Regions from separate parts of the Homo sapiens genome. Here regions 1 and 3 are each linked to region 2. The links are contacts of gene promoters, found by promoter capture Hi-C in human tissues and cell types (Jung and others, 2019). All regions are on one chromosome and are shown on one strand. Each heading gives the region's core, a stretch centred on a gene start or on the middle of the fragment in contact. The rest is flanking DNA. Distances are from core to core; before and after follow the strand shown. Region 1 has its middle 14 kb from the start of DOCK9-DT. Region 2 holds the start of GPR18 (G protein-coupled receptor 18). Region 3 has its middle 24 kb from the start of LNCARGI.

Evidence for each region. Contacts are between HindIII fragments. The study calls those that stand out against the background at their distance.
Region 1: a fragment that was not itself captured here is called in contact with the fragment with the promoter of GPR18 in region 2 in 3 of the 25 tissues and cell types used here (IMR-90 fibroblasts, lymphoblastoid cells and thymus).
Region 3: a fragment that was not itself captured here is called in contact with the fragment with the promoter of GPR18 in region 2 in 4 of the 25 tissues and cell types used here (dorsolateral prefrontal cortex, lymphoblastoid cells, mesenchymal stem cells and 1 more).

Annotation. Positions count from the first base shown.
Region 1 is chr13:99,099,638-99,102,801 of GRCh38, forward strand. No RefSeq gene overlaps it. Among named protein-coding and RNA genes, the nearest start is that of DOCK9-DT, 14 kb to the left of the region's middle. RefSeq lists a silencer at 191-356. The HindIII fragment of the contact is 7,602 bases long and covers 1-3,164 here.
Region 2 is chr13:99,256,955-99,260,090 of GRCh38, forward strand. It overlaps GPR18 (G protein-coupled receptor 18), which reads right to left and starts at 1,425. Exons shown (of 2, transcript NM_001098200.2): 1 at 1,200-1,425. All of the region lies in intron 4 of UBAC2 (UBA domain containing 2), which reads left to right. LOC124903198 (a long non-coding RNA gene) reads right to left here. Exons shown (of 3, transcript XR_007063846.1): 3 at 1,485-1,632. The HindIII fragment of the contact is 6,968 bases long and covers 1,412-3,136 here.
Region 3 is chr13:99,407,106-99,410,104 of GRCh38, forward strand. It overlaps the pseudogene CCR12P. Among named protein-coding and RNA genes, the nearest start is that of LNCARGI, 24 kb to the right of the region's middle. The HindIII fragment of the contact is 3,754 bases long and covers 1-2,999 here.

The sequences.
Region 1 (3,164 bases), core at 205-2,704, 160 kb before region 2:
TCACACTTATAATCCCAGCACTTTGAGATGCCAAGGTGGGCGGATCACCTGAGGTCAGGAGTTAGAGACCAGCCTGGCCAACATGGCGAAACCCTGTCTCTACTAAAAATACAAAAATTAGCTGGGTGTGGGGGCAGACACCTGTGGTCCCAGCTACTTGGGAGGCTCAGGCACAAGAATCACTTGAACCCCAGAGGCAGAGGTTGCAGTGAGCCAAGATCACACCACTGCACTCCAGCCTGGGCAACAGAGCAGGACTCTGTTTCAAAAAAAACCCCATCACAGATAAGAAGGCTATGTCTGAGGAAGTAACTAAAGCTTTCTTCTCAATTATTTCCACTGTAGATACATCTTTTCATTGAGCCAATACAGCAGAAATTGGGCAAAAATTCCACATGATTTTAAAACAAATGTCTTCCTAAGTTGACTGGGTGAAACAGGAGTCAAAACCAGTTTCCTTTGGAAAATATTTATTTAACAAAACTCACACAATTTTTTCCAGAAAACACGGTAATAAAAATAAAAATATAAAGTTTCAATAGATGGGGGCTATCTTCAACAGTTCAAGAAATAAGAATCAGAAAAAAAATTGAACAGTCATAAAAAGACAAATACTATGTAATTCCACTTTACAGGATGCCTAGAATAGTCGAATTCATAGAGACAGAAAGCAGCATGGTGGTTTCCAGGGGCTGGAGGGAGAGGAGAATGGAGACTTGTTGTTTAATGGGTACAGAGCTTCGGTTTTACAAGATGAAAATAGTTGTGTGGATGGATGGTGGTGACGGTTCCAAAATAGTGTGAATGTACTTAATGCCACTAACTACACACTAAAAAAAAATAGTTAAGGTTGCAAATTGTATGTGTATTGGCCACAATTAAAAATTATAAAACTAGGCCGGGCACGGTGGCTCACGCCTGTAACCCCAGCACTTTGGGAGGCCGAGACGGGCGGATCACAAGGTCAGGAGATCGAGACCATCCTGGCTAACATGGTAAAACCCCGTCTTTACTGAAAAAAAAAAAAAAAAAAAATTAGCTGGGCGTAGTGGTGGGCGCCTGTAGTCCCAGCTACTCGGGAAGCTGAGGCAGGAGAATGGCGTGAACCTGGGAGGCGGAGCTTGCAGTGAGCCGAGATCGCACCACTGCACTCCAGCCTGGGCGACAGAGCGAGACTCCGTCTCAAAAAAAAAAAAAAAAAGAAAAATTATAAAACTATATATATAAATATATATACATCTCCAAGAAGGGAATAGCAGAAAAGCTGGGAGCATGAAAGTCACTTGAGTGTGAAGAGGGGCTGTTCCTAAGGCAGGACACCTAGAAATTTACAAGAATGGGCAAATCCTGTGTCAAGTGGTCTGAATCATATGCAATTTCTAGGGGTCCTCTTGAAAAAATACAGAGTTTTAAATATCAACTAGAGTACAAAAGGAGATATTTAGTATAAGAAAAATCATGTAAATTATAATTTTTAAGCTACTTAATACCACAAACATCACATAATCCTAAAAAATAGTATTTTTATAAACAAATTTTCTCATGCATCTCTAAAAGGCTTTTTTTCTTATAATTTTTGTCTGCAGACACTCTGATAGCCTCTTAAAAAGACAGTGATTTTGTAATATTTTGTTTGGCAAGAATAGAAAGAAAATTATCTTAAGCGTTGGTAATTGACATTTGAAAATGATTGATAGTTTAGAAATGCTTCTTTCTACTTCTATCAAAGCAACTAGTTGTTGGTAACATCTCGTAACTTTCTTGGATTTTGTCAAATTTCAGGAAAATTGTTAGTAAATAAATTTATGTATGAGCCGTAATATTTTAGGATACTTTCAGTTTTTCTGTGTCTGAGTCCTCAAGTTGACAATATTCATTACCTAGTTTGTCATCAATGTCCTCATTGTATTGGAAAATTAAGAGTTTTATGGAGGCCGGGCACAATGGCTCACACCTGTAATCCCAGCACTTTAGGAAGCCAAGGCAGAAGGATTGCTAGAGGCCAGGAGTTTGAGACCAGCCGGAGCAACAAAAAATTAGCTAGGCATGGTGGTGCATGCCAGTGGTCCCAGCTACTTTGGAGGGTGAGATGTGAAGATCCCCTGAGCCCAGGAGTTTGAGACTATGGTGAGTAATGAACTGGACACTGCTCTCCAACCTGGGCAACTGTATTAGTCCATTCTCACGCCGCTAATAAAGACATACCCAAGACTGGGTAATTTATAAAGGAAAGAGGTTTAATTGACTCATAGTTCAGCATGGCTGGGGAGGCCTCAGGAAATTTACGGTCATGGCAGAAGGAAAAGCAAACACATCCTTCTTCATGTGGCGGCAGCAAGGAGAAGAATGAGAGCCGAGCAAAGGAGGAAGTCCCTTATAAAACCATCAGATCTCATGAGCACTCACTCACTATCACGAGAACAGCATGAGGGAAACCACCCCCATGATTCAATTACCTCCACAGGTCCCTCCCACAACACGTGGGGATTATGGTAACTACAATTCAAGATGAGATTTGGATGGGGACACAGCCAAACCATATCAGCAACAGAGCAAGACCCTGTGTCTTAACAAAAAAAAATATTTTTAGAGTTTTATGTTCTCCTTACCAAAGTCAATATTTCATGTTTAACCCACATAGATTTTAAATTATTTTTCTTTATTTTTTTTAAGACAGGGCCTCGTGCTGTTGCCCAGGCTGCAGTGCAGTAGCATGATCATGGCTCACTGCAGCCTCAGCCTCCTGCACTCAAGACATCCTCCCTCCTCAGCCTCCTGGTTAGATGGGACTACAGGCACATGCCACCACACATGACTAATTTTTTATTTTTTGTAGAAACAGGGTCTTGCTGTGTTGCCCAGGCTGATCTCAAACTCCTAAGCTCAAGCAATCCTCCCACCTTGGCCTGCCAAAGTGCTGGGATTACAGGCATAAGCCACCACGCCAGGCTTAATTCTATGTGAGTTCATATAATTCACAACTCTTTATTACTCAGATTTCAAATAATCTAAATATAGAATCATTTGTTTCTCCTAACAGAATATCCCTTCCTCCTAATGCACGATTGGTTTTGGTATGATCTGGAAGTTTTGTGTTATACTTTCCTTCTCAGTGTCGGAATAACTCCTATTGACTTAATCACTCATCTTAACTGTTTTGTTTC
Region 2 (3,136 bases), core at 175-2,674:
TCTTTAAGGAAAACTATGGGGGAGATTTGCTGTCTGTGGTCAGTGGCATCACGGGCTATTGATAATTAAGAATTAACTTGAGCAATTGCTGTGGTTAAACACAAGAAACGTGCCTGTCTGCCTTCCTTCCTTTCCCTTCCCTTCCCTTCCCTTTCTTCCCTTCTTCTCCTTCTTTCCTTCTCAAATATTTAGGTTAAATATGATTTAGGAGCATAATTCTATATATTTAAAAACATATTAAATTTTCCAAATATTGGTGTGACTAGAATATTAATTTCTATCAAATGAGGAAAGTGCTACAGAGAAAAATTATATCTCTAGTGTCATTCAAAGGAGAGTAATCTTGGAGGCTTAAATCTTATTTTTAACTGGAATGCATTCTTATTAAATAGTAGCAATTATAATATAAATGAAATTTTGTATTTGTTTTTCTTTTTTTAGTATTGCATCAGGACTCCCTTCACCTATCCTCATCCTTCAATTTTGTGACATAAGTCCTGTACTTACAAACCATCTTGAGTCTTTTTTCCCACGTTATGCTCAAGCTGTTTTTATGTAGCTTGTCACCAATACTTATATTCATTTGCTGACGTTTGAAAAAAAATGAGTGATGCATGTGTTTTAAAGGCATTATAGTATTGATTGTGCTCTGCAAACACAGAAATTTTTGGATAAATATTGAAAAGTGATTGACTTTAAAGTCAGCTTTTTAAAAGCTATAGATACCATGATTATCTGTAGCTTTTCTTTTCTTAAAAACCATTAAGTTATTTCATGAAACAATGTAATTGAAAACATGTGATGAACATTCCTAAATATACATATGATTTACCATAAACATTTTCTTTCCTTAAGTTGAAAAAAATTACATTTAGTATTAATGTAAAGCAATATTGAAAATAAATGTAAAATCATATTAATGTGGAAAGATGATTATATAGCCTATTTCAAGGTCTTTCACCAACATAGTTTGTTATGTTTATTTTTTTAATTAAATATATTTTTTTAATAGAGACGGGGTCTCACTATGGTGCTCCTGGGCACAACTGATCCTCCTGCCTTGGCCTCCCAAAGTGTTGGAGTTACAGGCGTGGGCCATTGCGCCCAGCCTGTATTATTAAAATGAAATGATTTTTGAAATGCAGTACATAAAGCATTACTTTTGACAATAATCATGAAGTTAATTAAATGCTGCTTACCTCCTGTCCATCAAAAGTCTGTGTGAGAGATGAGCATTTTTCAGCACTTCCACTTCTGTCGAAGGGATATCTTTGAGTTGCTTCTGTTAAAATAGCTCTTTCTGGAAACAGTGTATTTAAGAAATGTTGTATTTTGTTTTAGACTCTTTTGTTGCTTTAAAAAGTAGTTTCCAGTGTAACGCTTGGCGTCGGAGTTGGTGCTGGGCTGACTTTAATTGCTGCTTTGTCTCTTTCAGGAAGTGCTCTCTGAAATAGGCTTTTTCACCTTATGACTTTACCCTGGATGTGGTTTTTCTCTTTCACAAATGATTTGTTTATGAAGTCACACTTAGCATAAGCTCCCCTTGAAATGATGGCATATATTTAAGATAATTATATACAAAGGATAAAGTTTCTTCAGTTTGTGTACTTTGATGCTTGAAGTCTGCATCATCTATGGAAAGAGAAGATTTGATATTGAGTAAAAGGGGGTTTAAAGTCTAGCTTCTTTGCTTTATAAGCTATGTGACTTTGTCTAGTTACCTACCCACTCTGACTAACCCTTTGTTCCTACTTCATTTCTGTACAGTTGAAATAGAGATAATACTATATCCAGTAGGATTGTAGGGGCCCTAAACCAGAAAGATCCCAAGTGCTTAATAGTACCTGGCACTTAGTAGGTACTCCTAAATGGAGTCTCACTTTTTACTACCAAGTTATTAAAAATCATAGAATATCCACATTTCCACTTTTTACTATTTAAACATTTCTAAATGCTTAAAAGTAGGATCCTTGATTAATTGCTTCTGCTTTGCCACATACATTTATCCACTTTAGTTTGCTGTATTTTGTAAGTCTGCTTTTCTAGTGCGTGGAAGTCTAGAAATAATTTCTTTTGCATAAAAATTTCTGCAAATCTTAGCAGAAAGGACTCTGAAGTCTTTAGTGGACTGATTTACATATTAAGAGTGTTTTCACCTAAGAAGGGAAATGAAACCAGCAGAAAGGGAAGTGAGCAACGAATCGCTGCCTGCCTTGTTAGGTTAATTTTGTTTTACTTTCTCATTTCTTAAAAAAAATTATCTCTCATTTGCTTATCCTAAAATTTTAATTATCTTTATGTTTGGTTATGCATGGTTTGTCAACTTTTTAAAGGGTTCATGAACTTAAATGTATTTGTTTTTTTGAATTTTAGACAGTTTGGGGTCCATCCTTTTTTTTTTTTTTCTCAGACAAAACCATAGTAAATCTGTGGCTTAGAAAAGTTACTTAAATCCTTGCCTTTGGTGATAAAATACTTTTGATTGTTACAACCTGCCAGAATGATGGGTTTTAGAAGTGTTGGAGACAACCATAGCAACTATTTCTTGTGTGGATGAAGAAATTGAAGGCCAGTTACTTGCTTAAGAACTCAAGGTAAAGCCAGGTCCAGTTTCTCCCGCTGTAATAACTTCTTATGAGGTAATTATATTGATCTGTCCACTAGATAGGACTTCTTATGGCTGAATCACATTCATCAGTTTTTTATATGTGATGTTATATTTCATTCATCACACAGGAGTTTGATGTTTCAGCTGGACAGAAATCTGCCTGCATGCAGACCTAATCTGTCCTTTGCCTTATTCACATAGCTTAGGACTTTTCTAAAATTAAGTATTGATTAGCTTCCCCATTGCTGCTAAAATCAACAGATACATTGATGGCATGTGTCTAGAAGAGTCCTTTCATCAAGACTTGAATTCTTCACGGTGCACAGGGGCATTCTTGTTTCTGAATTGCCAGACTCTTAGAGGAGGCATCCAGGAGCACCTGAGGGCTCTCCATAGGCCTGGCTTCAGGTTGGGGTGAGCTCTCACTTTTTCCTCATCTTGCTCTCCATTCCAGCCCTCTGGACTGGCTACATTTGCTCTTCCTGCCTCTCACATGCTGTTCCACCCACTGTGGCATTCCTCACCACT
Region 3 (2,999 bases), core at 253-2,752, 150 kb after region 2:
CCCCAAACGGGAAGCATCCTCTAAATTGCTGATCTAGTGCTCAGCCACTTCTTTCAGGCTCTTCTGCATTTACCATGAAAATAGACTTTTCCTGGAAAAAAACACCCCACACCCCTTTAGGGGCGAAGGAACTCCACTACCATTTACTAAGAGATATTAGAGCTGTGTTTGTCAGGATACTGAAGTCCAAACTTCAGGGCTCCATCCTTACACTGTCCCTTCAAAGACCCTGTCTCTAATTTTGTATTTCTTTCTTTCTTTCTTTCGTTTTGAGACGGAGTCTTGCTCTTGTCGCCCAGGCTGGAGTGCAGTGGTGCGATCTCGGCTTACTGCATCCTCTGCCTCCCGAGTTCAAGTGATTCTGCTGCCTCAGCCTCCTGAGTAGCTGGGATTACAGGTGCCCACCATCACACCTGGCTAATTTTTGTACTTCAGTAGAGATGGGGTTTCACCATGTTGGCCAGGCTGCTCTCGAACTCCTGACCTCAGGTGATCCGCCCACCTTGGCCTCCCAAAGTGCGGGGATTACAGGCGTGAGCCACCGCGCCCGGCCTAATTTTGTATTTCTTATTCTGTATTCTTTTCCTTAAAAAACCTTTTGCCCAAATTGTATCAACTTCAATACCCCAACGCTGGACCCCTCCCTAGATACAGTCATAAAGCAAATGACACGTTAGACCACGTGCTCCGCTAAGAACATAGAACCTCTGGCCTGGGTGATACTTGGTGTTTCTGAAGAAGCTTTTCCTGGGGTGGAGGAGGAGGAGGAGGAGGAGGAGGAAGACCCTTTGAGCTTTAAAATGCCCAGGAGCCATTTCCTGTAATGGGTGGATGCAAAGAAGTAAATGATGGGGTAATGCCACAGTTCATGTTCATGAGGGCCACGGTGGCCTGAAGGGACAGTAAGAAAGCCCTCCGCTCGGCACAGGATGGCAGGTGGAGCATCCCTCTCGCCATGAACTGCTTGATGTTGAGGTGGTAGGGGCTGAAGCAGACCACCACGGCCACCAGCATCAGCAGCGTAAGCAGGCAGCCTCGCCAGTGGCGTCCTTTCCTGCTGGTCACTGGGTCCTCCCGGGCTGTCCCGCCGGTGGCGTCCTTTCCCGCTGGTCACTGGGTCCTCTCGGGCTGTCCTGCCGGTGGTGTCCTTTCCCGCTGGTCACTGGGTCCTCCTGGGCTGCCCCGCCGGTGGCGTCCTTTCCTGTTGGTCACTGGGTCCTCCTGGGCTGCCCCGCCGGTGGTGTCCTTTCCCGCTGGTCACTGGGTTCTCCCAGCTGTGCTGCACAGCTTCCAGGTGATCTTCATATAGCAGGACAGGATGATCCCCACTGGCCCACAGAAGCCAATGGCAAAGGCCACCAGGACCATGAGGGGCAGCCCGAGGACTGACTCCATGCTGCTGTACTCCATGCAGGCCAGCTTGCCCACCAGCGGCTTGGTCATGGGCATCAAGAGCAAGGGCATCGTCTGCAGCAGCACCAAGGTCCAGATGGCCACGCAGACCAGCCTGGCGCGGCCAGCCGTGCGGAGGCGCGGGCCCCAGTGGGCACAGACCACAGCTGGGTAATGGTCCACGCTCACACAGGCCATGAGGTAGACCCCCCGTAGGTGTCGGTGTAGAGCACAAACGCCGTCAGCCTGCAGAGCCCCTTGCCGAAAGGCCAGCTGGAGCCCAGCACATAACACACCACCCTTCCCGGTAAGGCCACGGTGAACAGCAGGTCAGACACAGCCAGGTGCACCAGGTAGATGCCTGTGCAGTTGATCTTCCTGCTCTTTTGACAGGTAAGGCAAAGGGCAAGGATGTTTCCCAGGGCACTGAAGACCAGGAGGGCTGTGTAGAACAGAGAGCGTCATGCGGGCCACTGGGGCCAGGAGGTGAGGACGGCAAGAGCTGGCATTGCCAGGAAGACTACTCACGCCAGCAGTGCCGGAAGCCATCTCACGTGGCTGCCTGGGGAGGAAAAAAGAAAAAAAAAACACTGTATCTGTGGGGTTATGCCTCTGGAATTGTAATAATGAATAGTTTTGCTGAGGCAACATGCACAAGTATAATAAAACATGTCTTTTTCAGTAAGCTTTTTGTTGAAGTGCAACATACTGTTCTGGTTACTATGGCTGTGTAACAAATTACCCCAAAACGGCAACTGGAAACATAGTTTTATCATGTTTGTGGATTCTGTGGGTCAGGATATTGAAGAGGGCACAGTGGGAATGATTTTTCTCTGCTCCCTAATCTTGGAGGTCTCTGCTGAAAAGGATCAACAGCTGGGGGTTACTCTGGGGCACGGGTTGGGGCCTCCTGGAAGCGACTTTGCTCCCGTGTGTGGCTGTTGAAGCTGACTGCTGGCTGGAACCTCGGCTGGGGCTGTCCACGGGAGCATCTGCCTATGGCTTCTCCCAGCATGCCAGCCTCAGGGTAATCAGACTTCTGATACGACAGCTCGAGGCACTGAAAGAGAGTGTCCCAGCAAACAGGACAGAAGCTGCATGTGTTAACCACGTCTTTTATTTTCTGTATTCTGATGCTTTAACATTTGGGGACCTTGCTGACTGTGGAGGGACTGCCCCTTCCCGGGTTAGCCAATTCCTAGAGACAGTAAACAACTCACCCATGAACACGCTCTTCAGTTCTTCAAATGCAAACCTACCAATCCAGAGTCCTTAGCTTCCACGGGCTCCATTTACAGCTCTCACACACCAGGACACTATCCACCTGCCCTAAACACCCCAGGGCCAGGTACCACACAAATGGGGACAGTCCTCATGTCTCAGAGCTTGCTGAAATGATTCAAACCACCCAATCTTAAGCCTGTGTACCCTAAAACCACTCTTGCCCACATTTTCCCCTGCTCCCTTCACCTCCTGACCAACCCTATGTCTCCCCGGTGGCCCTGCGTGATGGGGCGTGCCCTCCTCTTGGGATCTGTGAGTAGCAAACTGTCCTTCAATGGCAGTTATCTGCTGACCTGTTGGCCTTCTTGAACCTCGGCTTTTCT